Regions from separate parts of the Homo sapiens genome. Here all the other regions are linked to region 1. Evidence: promoter capture Hi-C in human tissues and cell types (Jung and others, 2019). All regions are on one chromosome and are shown on one strand. Each heading gives the region's core, a stretch centred on a gene start or on the middle of the fragment in contact. The rest is flanking DNA. Distances are from core to core; before and after follow the strand shown. Region 1 holds the start of ADNP2 (ADNP homeobox 2). Region 2 overlaps KCNG2 (potassium voltage-gated channel modifier subfamily G member 2). Region 3 overlaps KCNG2 (potassium voltage-gated channel modifier subfamily G member 2). Region 4 overlaps KCNG2 (potassium voltage-gated channel modifier subfamily G member 2). Region 5 has its middle 3.6 kb from the start of PARD6G. Region 6 holds the start of HSBP1L1 (heat shock factor binding protein 1 like 1).

Region 1 (2,989 bases), core at 199-2,698:
TAATACACACTCATACATGGCCAACTCTCCAAGAACATCTTTAAATAAGTTACACATACATTACCGACTTCCAAATACAGCTGAACATGTACTTTACACAACTCTTTTTACATGTGGTCCTCTCTCCCACTAATGCTCCTCACCCCCAAAAATGGTACCCAGACTCCAAACCCCCTCTTTTGATAAAGGCTCTGCGTGGCAGATGCCCACAGTACTCTACAAACTGCTGCCCCACTTGCCAATCTGCATTGTCAGTTACCTGCTTACCAGTTTCTCCTCCCCCACCCCACTCCTCCACAGCCAGTATATTCCTCAAGATCCCAAGAGGCAGTGATTACCCGTGCAAATAGAGTAAGTTTTAAGCACGCAGGCAAGTCTTCTGTTCAAATAAACTACTTAAAATATCTAATTATTTCTCATTCTGCATCTGTACAGTATTTAAAAGGGCAGTTAAAATTAACATTCCAAAGTCAACTGTAGTAGAAATTTTGTAAACGGAATCTATTTCAATGCAACCAGCAACGGCAGATGAAAAGTAATGTTAAAGTCAACATCTGTATATCAATTATTGATATTCGCATCAAAAGCTCAACGATGAAGAAACAGGGCCCCGTTATCAGCTGTTCTTCAAACCTTTCTAGGGAAAAAAAAACCTGGGCAGATTTAGGTGTCACCGTCAGCTCCTGACCTACATCTGCCGTCACTCAAGGCTCCTCCAGAGAGAAGCTTCCAGGAGAACCCGGTCTCGGGGATGCGGCGGGCGGGCCAGCGGGCGGGGCGTTTCTGGAGTCCTTACAGGGGTCGCCACAGCTCCTTGCCCCCTCTCTTCTTCTCCATCCCCGTTCCCTCTCCCTCTACTCCTCGCTCCCTTCACCAGCCCCCCTCTCTCCCTCGGTCCCCGTCCTCGTCTTTCCCCTATTCCTACTCTCCCCTCAGGTCCCCATCCCCTTCTCCGCCCTCCCGGGGCGGCCCCCGCTCCCACGTGACCGGCGGCGGGCGGGGCGGGCCGCGGGCGCGTCGGGGGTCGACGGGCGCCGTTCGGGCCGCGAACCCGCGCCCTGAGAACGTCCCGGGATTCCCGAGGCGGCCACGGGCGGCGCGAGGGCAGGCGGCGGGCGTGGGTGTGGGCTGGGTACCGGCGGGGGCGGGGCTCGGAGGGGACCAGACTGGGGCGGGGGCCAGGACCGGGGCAGGGGGCGTCGCCGCGCGGGCCCGCGCCGGGCCGGGCCGTACCTACCGCTTGGCGCCCGAGGAGCACCGCGTCTCCGCTGCTGCCTCTCGCAGGGCTGCCGCGTCTTCCGCCGAGCGCAGCCGCGTCCCGTGGGGCCGCCTGCGCCCGCCCGCGCCTCCGCCCCGCGCGGCGGGACCCCCGCCTCAGCGCGCGCCCACCCCCAGCGCGACTGGTCCCCTCCTCCCGCGCAGCCAGAAAGAGAAAATGGCGCTCGATTGGCCTCAGGAAGTGACGTTGGCCCTCATTTGCATGTAGGCGCAGCCAGCCAATGAGAGCAGAGTGTGCTTGGGGGCCCCTGGCACTTCCCACAGGCCCCCCGGGGCCCCTGGCTAAAGATGGACTGGAGGCTCTGGGGTGGCAGTGGGGGGCCCCTGTTGGACCCCCTGACTCCCTTCTGTCCCAGGGAACTGCCCTGCCAGCTCCTTTCCACATCTGTGCAAACTCTCGTGAGAGTTTGAGTGGGCAATGACGTCACTAAAGGGGTGGGGAGAGTGTGTCATCAACCATGTGACTAATCACGTGGACTCACCACAGCTTTGACTTCATTTGCATGGAATGGGGTGGAGCTAGTGGCAGCTCCAGGAGTGGTGACCCCGCCCACATCTCAGAGCCAATGGGAGCCCAACTGTGATAATGCTGCCTTGCCATTGGAAGACAAAACTTTGGCTCCCAGAACTGGGACAAGTGTGCCATGATTGGCATATCCTGGTGAACCGACTAGCTGGGGTCTCCTGACTTCATCATTCCTGTGGGAAAGTGATCACACCTTCTCTTGAGAATTCTGATTTTTAGATCTACTACAAGTTGTGTGGGGAGAGGGTTAATTGCATACATTTGTATAAACTCTTAACCTAAAAGTTCATTTTTGCACAGGTGTTTATCAATTGTGTAGCAATAATAATTTATTCCACAAAATTAGTGGAAACATGGCGTAGGGCTTTCAAAATGGCTCTAGGTCTTCGTTCCGTGGAGTCCCCAGGCCTCTGGCGGACGCCCTCGTGCCCCAGAGCACGTGGGAGTAACCACGAGGGCAGCGCAGGCGCCTCCCCCAGTGCCCCTAACCTTAACCCTAATTCTGACCCTGCACCTGAACCTCACCTAGCACTAACCCTGACTCTGACCCTAACTCCCCTCCAGTGTTCCTTCCCCTGACCCTAACTCAGCCGCGCCCTCAGTGGCTGTTCCAGGCAGTTCCTTCTTGGCGAAGCCGTCTGCAGGACACGTGCCCCTTTCAGCACAAGGCCACGTCTCCTTCCAGAGCGCCGAGCCCCTGCAACCCGCCGCCAGCCTCCAGCCCTGAGGCCCACTCCAGCCACCGCGGGGCAGAGGCCGTGCCCAGGCTGGGCCTTCCGCCCACCGCCCTCTCCAGAGCCTCCTTGTCACCATCCGCTCGTCCATAATTTCAGCTTTTCCCTCTCAATGGGAGCCTTCTGCTCAGTTTAGCCCAGTGACTAAACACATAATAGGCACTAAATTAATGTCCATATTCGTTTTAAAACTGTGTTAAATGGTGGGCCGATATGACCTGACCAAAATTTGCTTTTTTCCTACATGAATACAAGTCATAATTGAAGTAGAGTTTGCCCTTTATGTTTGCTGACAAGTTAAGATTTTACTTTGAGTTACAGTGGTAAATGGGTGTGATGTCCCTATATATCTTCCTTGCAAAATTATGGGTGGGATGAAAAGTGTAGTTAAAGCCTGCAGTCTCCCATTGATCCTCTAGTGACCTCTCATTTTATCACATTTCTCAAAACA
Region 2 (2,989 bases), core at 219-2,718, 250 kb after region 1:
TTGAAAGTGTAATAGCTGAAATGAAAAGCTCATTAGAGGGTCTCAGCAGCAGCTATGAACACGCTGAAGAAATAAGCAGAGAAACTGGAGATACATCATTTCATGCTATCCTATCTGAGGAGCAGAAAGAAAACAAGTGAAGAAAACGGAACAGAGCCTAAGAGACCTGTGGGACCATCACATGTACCAGCTTTTGCATAGTGAGAGTCCTGAAAGGAAAGAGGGAACAGGGAAGAAAGAATATTTGAAGAAATATGGTTTAAAAACCCTCCAAATTCGATGAAAAACATTAATCTACACATCTAAGAAACTCAACAAACTCCAAGTAAGATAAATTCAAAGACATCCACACTGACACACCACAAACTGTCTAAAGACAAAGACCCGGCACAGTGGCTCATGCCTGTAATCCCAGCACTTTGGGAGGCCGAGGCAGGTGGATCCTCTGAGGTCAGGAGTTTGAGACCATCCTGGCCAACATGGCAAAAACCTGTCTCTACTAAAAATACAAAAATTAGCGGGGTGTGGTGGCAGGTGCCCGTAATCCCAGCTACTCGGGAGGCTGAGGCAGGGAGAATTGCCTGAACCTGGGAACGGAGGTTTCAGTGAGCCGAGATCGCGCCACTGCAGTCCAGCCTGGGTAACAGAGTGAGAACTCCATCTCAAAAAAAAAAAAAAAAAAAAAAGAGAGAGAGAGAAGAAAACAGAGGCAAAAATCCTCCACAAGACATGAGCAAAATAAATCCAGCTTCATATTAAAAGGATTATACATGATGACCATTTGATCGTTTACCATAGAGATTTATCACAGGAATACACGGGTGGCACAATACACAAAATTACTATAATACGCTCATTTATAGGATGAAGGGAAAAATCATGCGATAATTTCAATAGAGGCAGAAAAAGGATTTGACGAAGTCTAACATCCTTTCCTGATTAAACAAAAAACTCAATCAATAACTAGGTCTAAAAGAGAACTTCCTCCACATGACAAGGTCCACGTAGGAAAAACTCACCGCTAACTCCATAGTCAACGGTGAAAGACTGGATTCTTTCCCCTAAGACCAGGAACAAGACTGAAATACCTGCTCTCATCAGTTCTACTTAACATTGAACTGGAAATTATAGTCAGAAAAATTAGGCAAGAGAAAGAAATAAAAGGCATCCACACTCAAAAGAAAAAAGTAAAACTATATTTTGAGATGACTTGATCTTATGATCTTATGTACAGAAAACCTTAAAGAACACACACGCACACATACACATACACATGCGCACACACACACACACACATCACTATGAGAATGGGTTCAGCAAAGTTGCAAGACATGAGATCGGTAAAAAAAATCAGTTGTATTTCTATACAAAAGCAATGAATAATCGGAAAAGGAAGTTAAAAAAATTCCATTTATAAGAGCATCAGAAAGAATAAAATACTTAGAAATAAATTTAACCAAGGAGTGGAAACTGAAACCTACACTGAAAACTGAAAACTACAAACATTGGTGGAAGAAATTTTAAGACTAAATAAATGAAAAGACATTCCATGCTCATGTATTGGAAGACTTAATATTGTTAAGATGGCAATCTTCCCTAAATTGATCAACAGAGTCAATCCAATCCATATGAAAATCCCAGTAACTTTTTTGAAGACATTGACAAGTTGAACATTCTATTGACAAGTTGAAAATTCTATTGGAAATGCAAGGTAGCCAAAACAAACTTGACAAAGGACAAAGTTGGAGGGCTCAAACTTACTTGATATCATTTTATTACATGCCTCCACCTAAATCTTGTGTCGAAATGAGATCTGTTCGTTTAAAAGTGTGTGGTACCTACCCCGCAACCTTGTTCTTGCTTTCACCATGTAACGTGCCTGCTCCCCCTTTGCTTTCTGCCATAACTGGAAGCTTCCCAAAGCCTCCCCAGAAGCTTAGCAGACATTGGCACCGTGCCTCCTTTACAGCCTGAAGAACCATGAGCGAATTAAACCTCTTTTCTTTATAAATTACCCAGTCTCAGGTATTCCTTTATAGGAATGCGAACATGGACTAGTACATTACTACTTACTCAAAGTGAGTATAAAGCTACAGCAATCAAGAGTGTAGTACTAGTGTAAAGAGAGACATAAAAATCAATGGAGCAGAATTGAAAGTCCAGAAATGAACCCATAAATCTACCGTCAGTTCACTTTTGACAAGGTCGTCAAGACTATTCAATGGAGAAGTAATAGTGTCTCCAACAAACGGTTATCCACATGTAAAAAAATAAAGTTGGACCCTGCTATCGTTTGGATATTGGCCTCCAAATCTTATATTGGAATTTGATACCCAGTGTCGGAGGTGGGGCCTAATGGGAGGGGTTTGGGTCATGGGGGCTGATCCCTCATGCATGGCTGGGAGGTGTCTTCATGGTAATGAGTGAGTTCTCGCTCTATGAGTTCACTCCAGAGTTGGCTGTTGAACCCGCCTGGCACCCCTAGCCCTTGCTTCCTCCATCTCCGTGTGGTCTCTGCACACACCAGCTCCACGCCATCTTCTGCCATGACTGGAGCTGCCTGTGGCCTTCCTCAGATGCAGATGCCTGATCTTGAACTTTTCCAGACATCAGAATCATGATGACATCACAAGCTTCTTTTTAAAATGAATTACCTGGCTCCAGGTATTCCTTTATAGCAACACTGAATGGACCAAGATGCCTACATCACACTATATATAAAAACTAATTCAAACTAGATCAAAGACCTTAATGTAAGAGCTAAAACTCCAAAACACACGTAGAAGAAAACAGACTGTACATCTTCATGACCATGGATGAGACATTGGTTTCTGAAACAGAATGCCAAAAGCACAAGCAACAAAAGAAAAAAAGATAAATTGGACTTCATTCCAATGAAACTCTTGTATATCAAAGAACAGGACCAGGAAAATGAATGACAAGTAACGGTGGAAAAAAAAAGAGCTGCAAGTCCCGTATCTGATAAGAG
Region 3 (2,989 bases), core at 214-2,713, 230 kb after region 1:
TCAGCCCTGTCCCCACCAGACAAGTGTCCCCTGGGTCACGGCCACAGCCAAGGTTCTGGGGCCCAGGGTGGTCCAGGCGGGGCAGGGTATAAACTCGTAAAACTCTGCACTAATATATTTTAAAAGCCTTCAAAGACTGTGTGCACTTTGACCTAGAAATTCTATTTTGGGGAGTTGTCAGGGAACGTCAGAAATGAGCCCAAAGATTTATGCAAAAGGACCTGCTCGCTCATCAGAGCTCAGCTTTATGGGTCTGGACAAATCACGGTCCTGGAACCACCACTACCGCGAAAACGCAGCGCAAAGACGCAGGACAGCTCCCCCAGCTTCCCCCCGCCGTTCCCTGCCTCACAGCCGGACCCCGCCCACCCAGTCTTGGCCCCCAACCCCTGGCTTTCCCAGGTATCCCATAGACGGGATCGCAGCGTGGCTTCCTGGCCTGGCCTCTCCCGCGTCAGGCCCTGCGAGCCCATTCGTGCTGTCCCGGGCACCCACCCTTTGCTGCTTTTCACCGCGCACCGTGGATGCACCGGGATTGATCTGGCACCGGCCGTCGCGGTCCGTGTCGGCTGCTTCCGGGCTAGGCCGTGCTGAATAAAGCCGGCTGAACACTCGCTCTGTACGTGACACACGCTGTCCTTCCCGCGAGTACGTCCTGGGCGTGGGCGCTGGTGTGCGATGAGCGCAGGTGTACCCGGCCTCCGCGTGCCACGCGCAGATGTACCCGGCCTCCGCGCTCCACGCGCAGGTGTACCCGGCCTCCGCGCTCCACGCGCAGGTGTACCCGGCCTCCGCGCTCCACGCGCAGGTGTACCCGGCCTCCGCGCTCCACGCGCAGGTGTACCCGGCCTCCGCGCTCCACGGCAGCCTCGCCACTCCATGGCAGCCTCGCCACTCCATGGCCTGCAGGTCCTGAGCCTTGCCGGCCGCGCACCCTCCTTTGAGCTTGCTGCTCTCGGCTGGTTTTTAGATCAGGGCCCTTCTAACATGTGAGTGACAGCTCCTGTGGCTTAACTCTGTATTTCCCTAATAACAGTTCAGCGCTGTATTTGCCATAGGCGTGTCTTCTTTGGTGAAGTGTCTGTTCAAAACTTTGTCCCTTTTAAAATCAGGTTATTTTCTTACAGTTGAGTTTATACAGTTCTTTATATAGCTTAATTACAAGTCCTTTGTTAGATATGTGATTTACAAATATTTTCTCCCAGTCTGAGGCTTGTTTTTTCATTCTCTTAACAGTCTTTTGTGGACAAAAGTCAAAAGAATTTTTTTAATAGAGATGAGGGTCTTGCTATATTGCCCAGGCTGGTCGTGAACTCCTGGGCTGAAGTGATCTTCCCACCTCGGCCTCTCAGTGTTAGGGTTACAGGCCTGAGACCCCAACTAGGCCAGGAGTTTTAGATTCTAATGAAGTGAAGCCTATCCATTTTCATATTTCATGAATCGCGTATCTGACGCCACGTCTGGGAACTCCTTCCTTACTCTCCATTGGCAAGGCCACCTCTATGTTTTCTTCTACAAGTTTATAGTTTTAAATGTTATATGTTTAGGGCCACGGTCCACCTTGAGTTGAATTTTTGTATAAAACGTAAGGCATGGGTTGTGTTTTTTTAAAATATGGGAGTTCAGTTGTTGTAGCCCCATTTGTTGAAAAGACGATTCTTTCTCCGTGCCCGGCCTTTTCACTTTGCCAAACGCCGGCTGGCCCCATTCATGTGGTTCTATTCCTGGACTGTGTCCACGACCCCACGCCTGTCCTTTCCCCACACTGTCCTGCTGTGGCTTCAGAACAAATCGTGAAAGCAGGCAGTGTCAGTTCCAACTGCTGCTTTTTCAAAACGGTTCCTAGGCCTTTCCATAAAGATGTTACAATCAGCTTGTAAATATTGCAGAAAATGGGATTCTGAATGGGATTTCACTGAATCTGGAGATGGACTATGGGGAGGGTGGACATCTTAGTCACACCGAGTCTTCAGCGCGTGAGCACTGCAGGCCTTCGTTGATTTCAGTCTTTATCAGTAATTATCAGCTGTATTTAGCTGTAATTATCAGCACGTAGATGGATCCTGGACCTAGGCTGTGAGACTTGCATGTAAGCAATTCATGGTTTTTGGTGCTATTAATGAACTTTAAAAAATTTGAATTCCAATAGTTCACTGCTAGCAACTCCCTTAATTTTCTTAAGCTTTGTTGTGGGTTTCCTGGGAATTTCTACATAGGCAGTTCTGTTCTCTTGCTTTCCAATCATACGGCGTGTTTCTACATAGGCAGTCCTGTTCTCTTGCTTTCCAATCGTACGGCGTGTTTCTACATAGGCAGTCCTATTCTCTTGCTTTCCAATCGTACGGCGTGTTTCTACATAGGCAGTCCTATTCTCTTGCTTTCCAATCATATGGTGTGTTTCTACATAGGCAGTTCTATTCTCTTGCTTTCCAATTGGACAGCGTGTTTCTACATATGCAGTTCTATTCTCTTGCTTTCCAATAGTACGACGTCTACTTTCCTTGCTTCACTGCTCTCTCTAGGACTGCCAACAGGTGCTGAAGAGGAGTGGGGAGCAGGCATCCTTGGGTTGGTCCCAATCTTAACGGGAAAACATTCAGTCTTTTGCTATGTATGTTGTTAGCTGTAGGGTTTTTTTGGTAGATGTTCTCTATCAGGAAAAGGAAATTCCCTTCTATTCCTAAATTGCTGAAAGTGCTGTTTTAAAAATCATGAATGGATACTGAATTTAGTCAAACGCTTTTTCTACATCTGTTGAGATGAACAGCTGGCATTTTTTCTTTGGTGCATTAATATTGTGAATTACATGGGTTGGTTTTGAGTATCGAACCAAGCTTGCTTTCCTGAGAAAAACCTCAGTTGGCCGTGATGTGCTGTGCTTTTTATGTCTTTACCAACCCCGATTTACTGATGTTTTGTTGAGGAGTTTCGCATGAGTTCATGGGAGACACTGGTCTTTGTTTTTACTTTTCTTGTCATGTCTCTGGTT
Region 4 (2,989 bases), core at 167-2,666, 210 kb after region 1:
TCGGGGGAGGCAGGTCTGAGCCCCAGGTGGTCCCGGTGGGCTGTTGCCTGCCATGGAGAAGGGGCTGGGGCTTGCACTCAGCCACTCACCGGGGCCATGCACGTCTCCTGCCCTTTCTCCACACCTGCGTCCCCTACAGACTCCTGCTGCCGTGTAATGGACAGTGGGACCCTCTGGTGAGGTGTCCCCCTCCTGCTTCGGGCTGCGGCCACCATGTCTCAGGTTTCCTGGATGAACTCATTAAAATGAAGCATAGAGCAGCGCGATGTCGAAAGTTCCTTCCAGAAGAACAAGGCCATGTTCTGGGACAGGAGGATCCCAGAAGAACAAGGCCATGGAGGGGTTGCAATGCCACACGCAACCTTGTGCAGAGGGAGTGTCAGGAGGCCCTTGTCACCCTCCCGGAGGTCAAGCCTTAAAGATTCCCTAGGGAGGTGGTGTCAGGGGATGGAGGTTAGAGGTCAGGGCTGGAACCCTCTTCCCCGACCCCCGAAAGGGCGGTTACTGCGGTGGCACTGGGGGTGCTGTGAGCATTGGCTCAAACCTCTGTCCCATCCCTGGGAAGGTGATGTGGCCTTGGGCAGAGGTGGATGCGGAGGGCCTCCTTCTGCAGGGACCTGCCCATTCCGGATGCCATGGGGGCTTGGCAGGGGCCGTGCTCCCTCCTCCCTGGCTGGAGGCAGGGGGATGAAGTCATCCACAGCAGGCGTGGAATCTCTCGGACTTACTAAATTTATTTTTAGCTAGGCGTAGAAAATTAAAAATCCAAGGAAAGGGGTGGGGCAGGAGGACAAAGGCCAGTGACTTTGCCCAGCGCTGCCACGGGGAGTCAGGCAGGGCCCCGCCAAGTTCTGGGGCTGCTCACGCACGAGGGCCGAGGACGCGGCCGGCAGGAGCCGCTCCCCCAGGCCAGACGCCCCCCACCCCTTGGCGCACCTCGGGGGTCCCGACGCTGCAGCTGGAGGGGGCAGGGGGTCTCCGTGTGGGCGGCGCAGGCGTCAGCGCCCTGCCCGCACCCACAGCGCATCCGCGGAGTCGTCGGCCAGGCCCGCGCTGTCGGGGCCCTGCGAGCTGTCCTCGGTGGCTGTGGCCGAGTGCGTGCTGTCCTCCTGCAGGGCCGGCTCGGGGCTGGCCGCGCGCTGCTGCTGCTCCTTGAGCTCGGAGTAGGAGCGCGAAAAGGTGTGGAAGATGGAGGTGACCGGGAAGGCCATGAGCAGGATGCCGCTGAGGATGCTGCTGAGCGCCACCACCTGCCCGGGCAGGCTGCGCGGGACCATGTCGCCGTAGCCCACGGTGGTCATGGAGATGACGGCCCACCAATAGCTGGCGGGCACGCTGGAGAAGTCGCGGCGCGCGCCCAGCTCGCGCTCGGCCAGGTGCACCAGTGGCGCGAAGAGCGCCATGGCCACGCAGAGGAACAGCAGCAGCAGCCCGAACTCGCGCGCGCAGCGGCGCATGGTCAGGCCCAGCGAACGCAGCCCCAGCGAGTGGCGCGCCAGGCGCATCACGTAGAGCACGCGCAGCGCACGCAGCAGCCGCAGCACCAGCCCCGCGCGCTCCAGGAGCTTGGTCCCGCCCGGGCCTGCCGCCAGCCCCAGCAGCAGCGACACGTAGAACGGCAGGAGCGCCAGGATGTCAATGATGTTGAGTGGCGCGCGCAGGAAGGCGCACTTGCTCTCGGCCTGCAGGGAGCGCAGCAGGAACTCGAAGGAGAACCAGGCCACGCACACGGTCTCCAGCACGAACAGGCTGCGGCACTTGGGGGAGCACTCGCCCTGCGGGGAGAGGGGACACGGGGTTGGGGGCGCAGGCCTCTTGGAGGGCCGGGGGCGCCTTGCCCTTCCTTTCCCAGGACCAGAGGCGTCCCCCAGGCCACCCTTCCCGCCCCAACCCACGGAAGCGGGTGCAGGGGATATTGACAGGCCCAGTTCCTGTTGGAAAAACCCAGAAAACCAGCAAGATTTCATGGTGATCACTTCGGGCTTGAGAGCGGATGCGCTTAGCTGACCCAGGAAACTGGTGAAAATAATGTTAAAACCCCTGACCTTTTAAAGCCTTGGGAAATGGTCTTAAGAGCAAACAGCAAACGAAGAAACATCTATTTATATGTGAAAATTCTGGAAGAAAGGTGAGCATTTGTGGTATCTGTGTCAAGACTGCATCCTCCTTCTCAGCTTGGCCAGGGGGAGACGCCACGTGGAATGGCTGCAGCCACGAACACAGACCCCCACCCCCACCTCCACCCCACCCACAGCTCCCAGTCAGGAGGGCTTCTTCCCTAGAAAGGGCTGACATCAGCATCTCACATTCCGCCCTCAGCTCCTGGGGCTACGTCCTTGGGGAGTCCGGTGGAGGGGTGGGGCTCCCTCCTCCTGCCCAGTCCCCACTCTCGTGGGTGGGAGGCTGGCCTTGGGTGTGGCACACTGAGAAGGCAGGGCCTGACTGCCCTTGCTGCAGTGATTCCAGGCCAGGAGAGGCCAATGGGGTCTCAGGGTGCTATCAAGCTCTCAGCTCCTAGAGAGGGAGGGTGTCATTCACACTGAGGCTCGCAGCTGTCCCCATCCCCCAAATCCCTGGCTCAGAGATTCCTGCCTGGAGGGAGATGAAGGAAGTAATCTCTTCTCAAAGGAACTGACTTCCTTTGCAATGGAACATGAAGAAGTTTACACCGAAGGGCACTCTCAACGCTATTGGAGGTGGTGGTGAAGGGAATTAGGATTCATGCGTGTGCTGACCACGTAGCCTAGACTGCACGCTGGCTAAGGTGCCGGGGAATGAGGGGAGAAGACAGCTGGCAGGAGCCCTCCTGGGGTCAGAGCAATGTCAGGCACTCTCAGAAAGCAATGAGAAGGAGCTGCGATATGAGCAGGTTGTAAAGGAATAACAGAGCTTTCAGCTGGCTGCTAGGAGTTTAACTACTGGGTGTGGTCAGTGAGACAGAGAAGAGGTTGCTCCCCAAGCCCTGTCATCCCAGGGTGACGGTGGCACA
Region 5 (2,989 bases), core at 190-2,689, 140 kb before region 1:
CCATTTAGAGTGAATGAACTCTTCACACCTAGCTTCAGGATTCTTGCTTTGGCTAAGACCTCAAGGCCAGAAGACATGAGTGCTTCCTTAATGTTTGTATTGCCAGGGCCCGGTACAGGCCGCCACCATGGCAGAATTTGATGAATCAGAGACATTATCTTGGAGATGGCCGTAAACTGGACCACCAAGAAACCATGCTGAAATAGACAAGAGGAAAAGCATGCAGTTTCATCTAATAGGAAATCAGTAGGGCCTGCAACTGCTTTGAACCTCTGAAATGCTTTGGGAGTGTGCACGAGGAGATGAATCATGCTGATGAATGGATGCTGTGTGGCTGAAAACTGACCACGCTTTTCTGCCATAAAATCACATTCTGATACATTCACCAAGTCAGTGAAAAGCTTTACGGACTGACTCTTTTTAAAACAGATCCTGAGACTCTAATCCATGCTTAGTGTAATACTTGGAACAAAGACTGTGCTTCATGTTCTAGGTGCTTTTATTTGTATTTTGTAAAAGTGTCCCAGAGTTTTAATGCAAAGTCAGAGACAGCTGCGTAAGGTTTACCACCTGCCTTTTGTCTTCCACCTGGGGGTGGACATGCAGGTCACACCGCAAGCTGGTTGAGGAGAGAGCCCTTTGCACCAATCTAGGGGATGCAACCAGGGCCACTTTGTAGGATGTGGGCAGATGGCTCTGGAATGCAGGGAATTCATTCTATTCTGGCCAACGGTGCCATCTGCTGAAAGAGCTACTGGTAAGTCAATTTAGGCATGAAGCTTCCATTGAGAGTCAAGATATTACTGCATCAAAAAGGCAGAAGAGGCTAGACACAGTGGCTCACACCTATAATCCCAGCACTTTGGGAGGCCGAGGCGAGTGGATCACCTGAGGTCAGGAATTCGAGATCAGCATGGACAACATGGTGAAACCCTGTCTCTACTAAAAATGCAAAATTAGCCGGGCGTCGTGGCACATGACTATAGTCCTAGCTATTTGGGAGGCTGAGGCAGGAGAATCGCTTGAACTCGGAAGGCGGAGGTTTCAGTGGGCCAAGATCGCGCCATTGCACCCCAGCCTGGGCAACAAGAATGAAACTCCATCTCAAAAATGAAAATTTTTAAAAAAGGCAGAAGAGGCCTCTTTGAGCAGGGGAAGAGTAAAGGGTAAAAAGAAGGGATGCCTTTATATGAGAATCAGGTGATAATGAGGCATAACTACTCTGCCATTTCCTTATTTCAATCGAATATCAGTTCTTTGCCTGCCTCATCCGAAAATATATTAGAATGCATTGCAAATGCAACAGCCTGCTGGTTCAAATATTACAGCGATGCTTTCCTATTACCCAACGAAATTATCTTAGAGAATGTTTTCTTAGAACATATACATCAGCAACAAATGTTCAATCATAAAAGAGCCTGCTCTCATCATAAAAGAGCCTGCTCTCATCATAAAAGAACCTGCTCTCATCTTTTTTTCAACAGGGTCTCACTCTGCTATGCCCTGGAGTGCAGTGGCATGATCACAGCTCACCACACACTCGACCTTCCAGTCTCAAGAAATCCTCCCACCTCAGCCTCCCCAGTCTCAAACAATCTGCCCCTCTTGGCCTTCCAAAGTGCTAGGATTACAGGCATGAGCCACTGCAGAGGGGCCTTCCAAAGTGCTAGGATTACAGGCATGAGCCACTGCAGAGGGGCCTTCCAAAGTGCTAGGATTACAGGCTTGAGCTACTGCACCCAGTCAAGGAATACATTTTACTGGGTCCACAACATACTTCCTTTTTGCTCCTGATGGTTCAGTTATTAGATGGGTTCTTAGAAGCCGTGATTTGAGGAAGATTTAACCCCTACCCATTCCTATTTTCTCTCTCATTTTCTGTCTGAAACAAGTCAGCCTCTCAGAGGCTCCCATGACCCCCAGTTGTGTGAAAAGGCAGGCTATCAGGCCAGGATCTGAGGAGTCTTTTCTCTCTCTCCTTTCTTTTCTCTTTCTTTCTTCTTTTCCTTTTCCTCCCCCACTCCCTTCTTTTTGCTTAGATGAGGTCTCTCTCTGTCACCCAGGCTGGAGTGCAGTGGCACAATCATAGCCCACTGCAGCCTCGACCTCCTGGGCTCAAGCAATTCTCCCACCTTGGCCGCCTGAGTAGCTGGGACTATAGGTGTGTCCCACCATGCCCAGCTAATTTTTTTTTTTTTTTGGAGAGACAGGGTTTCACCATGTTGCCTAGGCTAGTCTCAAACTCCTGGCCTCAAGCAATCCTCCAGCCTCAGCCTCCCAGTGTGTTGGGATTACAGGTGTGAGCCACTGTGTCTGGTAGGAGAGGGCTTTTGTTTTTTCCAATCTGGCTGCTGTACTGTGTAAAAGCCTTTCCAGCTGAAGGCTCAGTTAATTTTTTTTTGGTCTATACCCGCCTGAACCTAGAGCTCAAAGCCCTAGCAAATCCAGTTCAAGTCTCAGCTGGAAACTCAAGCTCCACACGCAACAGCAAGCTTTCCCAGCCTTTCCTCCTGCTTTTGCCTGCAGATCATGCCAATCAAGAACTGTGGAGCAACAGATGATTAAGATAAAGGAGCAGCACCTCTCAAACTTCAGTGTGGACATGAATCACCTGGGGATCTTGTTCAAGTGCGGATTCTGATTCAGTGGGTCTGGGTGGGGTATTGCTAACAAGTGCCAGGTGGAGCAGATTTTGGGCCTTACACCACACTCTGAGCCACAGGCATTGACAAAGTGATCTCACTCTCATCAACCTGGTCCAGAGCCAAGTCTAGGGCTACTTGAAATTCCGTAGCCTTCCAGCCTTTCCTTTAAAAGGCGTCTTCCCACTCCAAAGCCCCGAGCTTACTGGGTGGACCCCACTCCCACCTTCATTGCCTACAGTGCTGTTCATTCCTCCACATACTCCTTTGTCCCTGCATTTCTTAAAATGTGACAGTTGGAGCTCCTCCCTCAGGATATTACTGAGCCTCTTCTAACCACAAAACAA
Region 6 (2,989 bases), core at 1-2,500, 140 kb after region 1:
GACTTCTGACAAAGGTGCTAAGGCCTTTGGATTCAGAGGGAAAGGAAAGTCTTTTCAACAAGCAGCGCGGGAATCATGAGGGCCACGTGCAGACGGGGCAGGGACCCATCCCCCTCCTCACACCACACACCATGAATGCAGGAGATCACACACCTTGGCCCAGAGCCAAGGCCATAAAGCATGCAGAGGAGGATGCAGGAGAAAATCTCGTGACCCTGCGCTCCTCAAGAATTCTTATGAAATTACTTACCAGGTCACACAGAAATACCACCATTGCTACTGAAAGCGTTTCCTGTTTATATACTGCTTTGTAGTTTACAGACTGACGTCCCACACCATTCACGGTGTAATCTACTCCTCACCCTGCGACCGTGTCCAGGGTGAGATGAGAACAGTGAGGCTGAGAAGCACAAAATTCTCCCAGCTGGGGGTTCAAGATCCCAGGGAGCCCCACGTACCATGGTGTGAATCTAGAATCCCGTCGACATAGGAGGAGGCCCCACCTCTGAACCATGCCAGGGCTTTCTACCTTTGTCAGGAAATTTACGTTAGGGTTTGCACAACGCCCAACACATTCCTTCAGATTCCAGGTCTCTTCCTCATAGCCAGTCCTCTTGTGGGCCTGGAACTCTTTGGCAAGTAGGAAGGCCTGGGGAGCGGGAGGATTTCCCGGAAGAGGCCGGAGCCCTGGGCGCTGCGACACTCGTGGGTCCCCTTTCGGGCACCCTTTGGCCCAGTTGTTTCCCCACTGACCCCGACCTCAATGCCCCCCAGTACTGCAGGGCTCCCCCCAGGACCTCAGGCCCCCCGAGGATCGCAGGGTCCCCCAGGACAGCAGGGCTCCCCCCTGCACCTCAGGCCCCCCCAGGACCGCAGGGTCCCCCAGGTCTTCAGGGGCCCCCCCAGGACCACAGGCCTCCCAGGCACTCAGGACTCCTCAGGACCACAGGAGTCCTCAGGATCGCAGGCCCCCCAGGACCTCAGGGCCCCACGAAGACCGCAGGGCACCCCCAGCACCGCAGGCTCCCCCCCCAGGACCTCAAAACCCCCCAGAACCGCAGGGGCGCCCCCATCCAGAGAGAAGCAGGAGTCGGGGAGGGGCTCACCGCGTCCCGCAGCGCGCGCCCGCCGGGGGCTTCAGGGCCCCGCACGTCCATGTGGACCGCTGGCCGGGGGCGTCAGTGGGGGGTCCCGTGGGCCGCGCGGACCCGGCGCGAGGTGGCGACAGCTAAGCTCCGCGATTCCCGTATGGGCCGCCGGGAGGCCTCGGGCGGAGCGCGCTGCGTTCCAGGGCGGAGGCGGGGCCGGAGCGGAGAGGCGGGCGCTGCACCTGCAGGGACGCAATGTCACCGAGCGGCCGCCTCGGAGGACTGGTCCGCGCCCCCAGGCTCTGCGGCTTCCCGAGCCGAGCCGAGCCGAGGCCCCGGGACGGCCTGGGCGGAGCCGCCTTACTCAAGAGGGCCCGTGGGCGCCACCGGCCACCTACACCCCCAAAACGCTCCGCACGGGCAGTGCATGGGCCTCGGTCACCCCTGCTGCGTTTCTCAGAGACGGGGGCTCGCTCTGTGGCCCAGGCTGGGGTGCAGTGGCGACTATGGCTCCCCGCAGCCTCGACTTCCCGGGCCCAAGCGATCCTCCTGCCTCGGCCTGGCCAGTAGCTGGGACCACGGGCGCGCGCCACCAGGTCCGGCTGATCTTTTTTATTTTTTGTAGAGACGGGATCTTACTATGTTGCCCAGGCTGGTCTCGAATTCCTGGGCACAAGTGATCCTCCTGCCTCGGCCTCCCAAAGTGCTGGGACCGCAGGCCTGGGCCACCACGCCGGGCCTTCCCTGGCCTCTTTCACACCTGGGTTGTGGCTCGTCACCTTGTGGGTGACCTCCCAGGACGGTGTTTTAGGGTTACCAGTCTTGTTGCCATGTCTGTGCCCCTGTGCAGCGCTGTGGGAACAGGGCTATGTCTGGTCACCCCAGCATCCCTAGGGCACAGCCCAGTGACCACACCTGGAAGCTCTGGTGTCTCCATGTGCGGATAAATAAAACACAGCCACCCAGCACCACCGCTGTGGCGTGGCGGTTCCCGCCAGGTTACTTCAGGGCGGATGTCTGTGGCCTGAACCCTAAAGGCCAGGCGGTGAGTCCAGGCCACGGTGCCCAGCGAGGAGCAGGTGTCCCTGAGAACCCAAACAGCCCGGAGGGGATGTGAGAACCACCACAGGGAGCAGGCCCATCACACAGACGGCGCAAAGAGGCAGAAAATTAGCTCAAAAGCAGCTTAGGGACAGAAGCACGCTCATCTCTAGAGTTGTCCTGCTGCCCACGAGTGCCCCACATGTGAGTCCTAATAAACTCACCTACTCACCAAGCTGGACTCCGCCCAGTCATTCTTTGGTCTCTCAGCAACTCCCACTTTAGGGTAAGGTTTTAAATGTGATTCTCGGTTTTTCTCATTACAACCAGTCATCAGGAAAACACAAACCAAAACCACAATGAGCTCCCACTGCAACCCACCAGCATGGCTAGAATCAGAGAGACAAACGTAAGTCCGAGAGGCGTGTGGGGATTGTGGCCCCCCCCACGCAGCCGGTGGGCTGTGAAAGGCTGCAGTGCTGTGAAAAAGTCGGGTGGGTCCTCAGAAGTGAAGCAGTTTCCACAGGGCCCAGCCGCGCCACCCCTAGGCATATACCGAAACGACAGCGCGAGTGCACCAAGTCTACTGCAGCATCAGTAATGCTCAAAAGGTGGAAACCACCCAAATGTCCACCCCCAATAAGTAGGTGACAAAATGCAGATGATAGAATATTCCTCAGCCACACAAAGGAGTGAGGCGCTGACGCACGCTACGAAGCAGGCGGGCCTCCGGAACAACGCTGGGTGGCAGAGGCCAGGCGTGAAGACCCTGAGTGGTAAGTCCATGGAGAGTTGGAACAGGCAAGGCCACGGAGACAGAAAGTTGACTTCTGTTGCTGGGGGCTGCAGGGACGAGGGAG

Evidence for each region. The method cuts DNA at HindIII sites, captures the fragments that hold promoters and counts their contacts. A contact is called where the count stands out against the background at its distance.
Region 2: a contact is called between a fragment that was not itself captured here and the fragment with the promoter of ADNP2 in region 1, in 7 of the 25 tissues and cell types used here (H1 embryonic stem cells, IMR-90 fibroblasts, hippocampus and 4 more).
Region 3: a contact is called between a fragment that was not itself captured here and the fragment with the promoter of ADNP2 in region 1, in 4 of the 25 tissues and cell types used here (IMR-90 fibroblasts, aorta, lymphoblastoid cells and 1 more).
Region 4: a fragment that was not itself captured here is called in contact with the fragment with the promoter of ADNP2 in region 1 in 2 of the 25 tissues and cell types used here (IMR-90 fibroblasts and lymphoblastoid cells).
Region 5: a fragment that was not itself captured here is called in contact with the fragment with the promoter of ADNP2 in region 1 in 10 of the 25 tissues and cell types used here (IMR-90 fibroblasts, adrenal gland, aorta and 7 more).
Region 6: the fragment with the promoter of HSBP1L1 here is called in contact with the fragment with the promoter of ADNP2 in region 1 in 5 of the 25 tissues and cell types used here (IMR-90 fibroblasts, adrenal gland, lymphoblastoid cells and 2 more).

The regions. Positions count from the first base shown.
Region 1 is chr18:80,107,721-80,110,709 of GRCh38, reverse strand. ADNP2 (ADNP homeobox 2) reads right to left here and starts at 1,448. Exons shown (of 4, transcript NM_014913.4): 1 at 1,238-1,448. RefSeq lists silencers at 927-1,026, 1,227-1,386 and enhancers at 1,196-1,697, 2,524-2,989. The HindIII fragment of the contact is 8,526 bases long and covers 1-2,989 here.
Region 2 is chr18:79,858,971-79,861,959 of GRCh38, reverse strand. The region is part of intron 2 of KCNG2 (potassium voltage-gated channel modifier subfamily G member 2); the gene reads right to left. Among named protein-coding and RNA genes, the nearest start is that of KCNG2, 63 kb to the right of the region's middle. The HindIII fragment of the contact is 4,051 bases long and covers 1-2,989 here.
Region 3 is chr18:79,880,628-79,883,616 of GRCh38, reverse strand. All of the region lies in intron 3 of KCNG2 (potassium voltage-gated channel modifier subfamily G member 2), which reads right to left. Among named protein-coding and RNA genes, the nearest start is that of SLC66A2, 70 kb to the left of the region's middle. The HindIII fragment of the contact is 7,076 bases long and covers 1-2,989 here.
Region 4 is chr18:79,897,826-79,900,814 of GRCh38, reverse strand. It overlaps KCNG2 (potassium voltage-gated channel modifier subfamily G member 2), which reads right to left. Exons shown (of 4, transcript NM_012283.2): 4 at 715-1,775. The coding sequence ends at 999. Among named protein-coding and RNA genes, the nearest start is that of SLC66A2, 52 kb to the left of the region's middle. RefSeq lists silencers at 1-266, 1,232-1,526. The HindIII fragment of the contact is 4,873 bases long and covers 1-2,989 here.
Region 5 is chr18:80,249,602-80,252,590 of GRCh38, reverse strand. No RefSeq gene overlaps it. Among named protein-coding and RNA genes, the nearest start is that of PARD6G, 3.6 kb to the right of the region's middle. The HindIII fragment of the contact is 3,076 bases long and covers 1-2,977 here.
Region 6 is chr18:79,962,904-79,965,892 of GRCh38, reverse strand. HSBP1L1 (heat shock factor binding protein 1 like 1) reads right to left here and starts at 1,250. Exons shown (of 4, transcript NM_001136180.2): 1 at 1,107-1,250. The coding sequence starts at 1,157. RefSeq lists a silencer at 1,024-1,593 and an enhancer at 2,689-2,768. The HindIII fragment of the contact is 12,330 bases long and covers 1-2,989 here.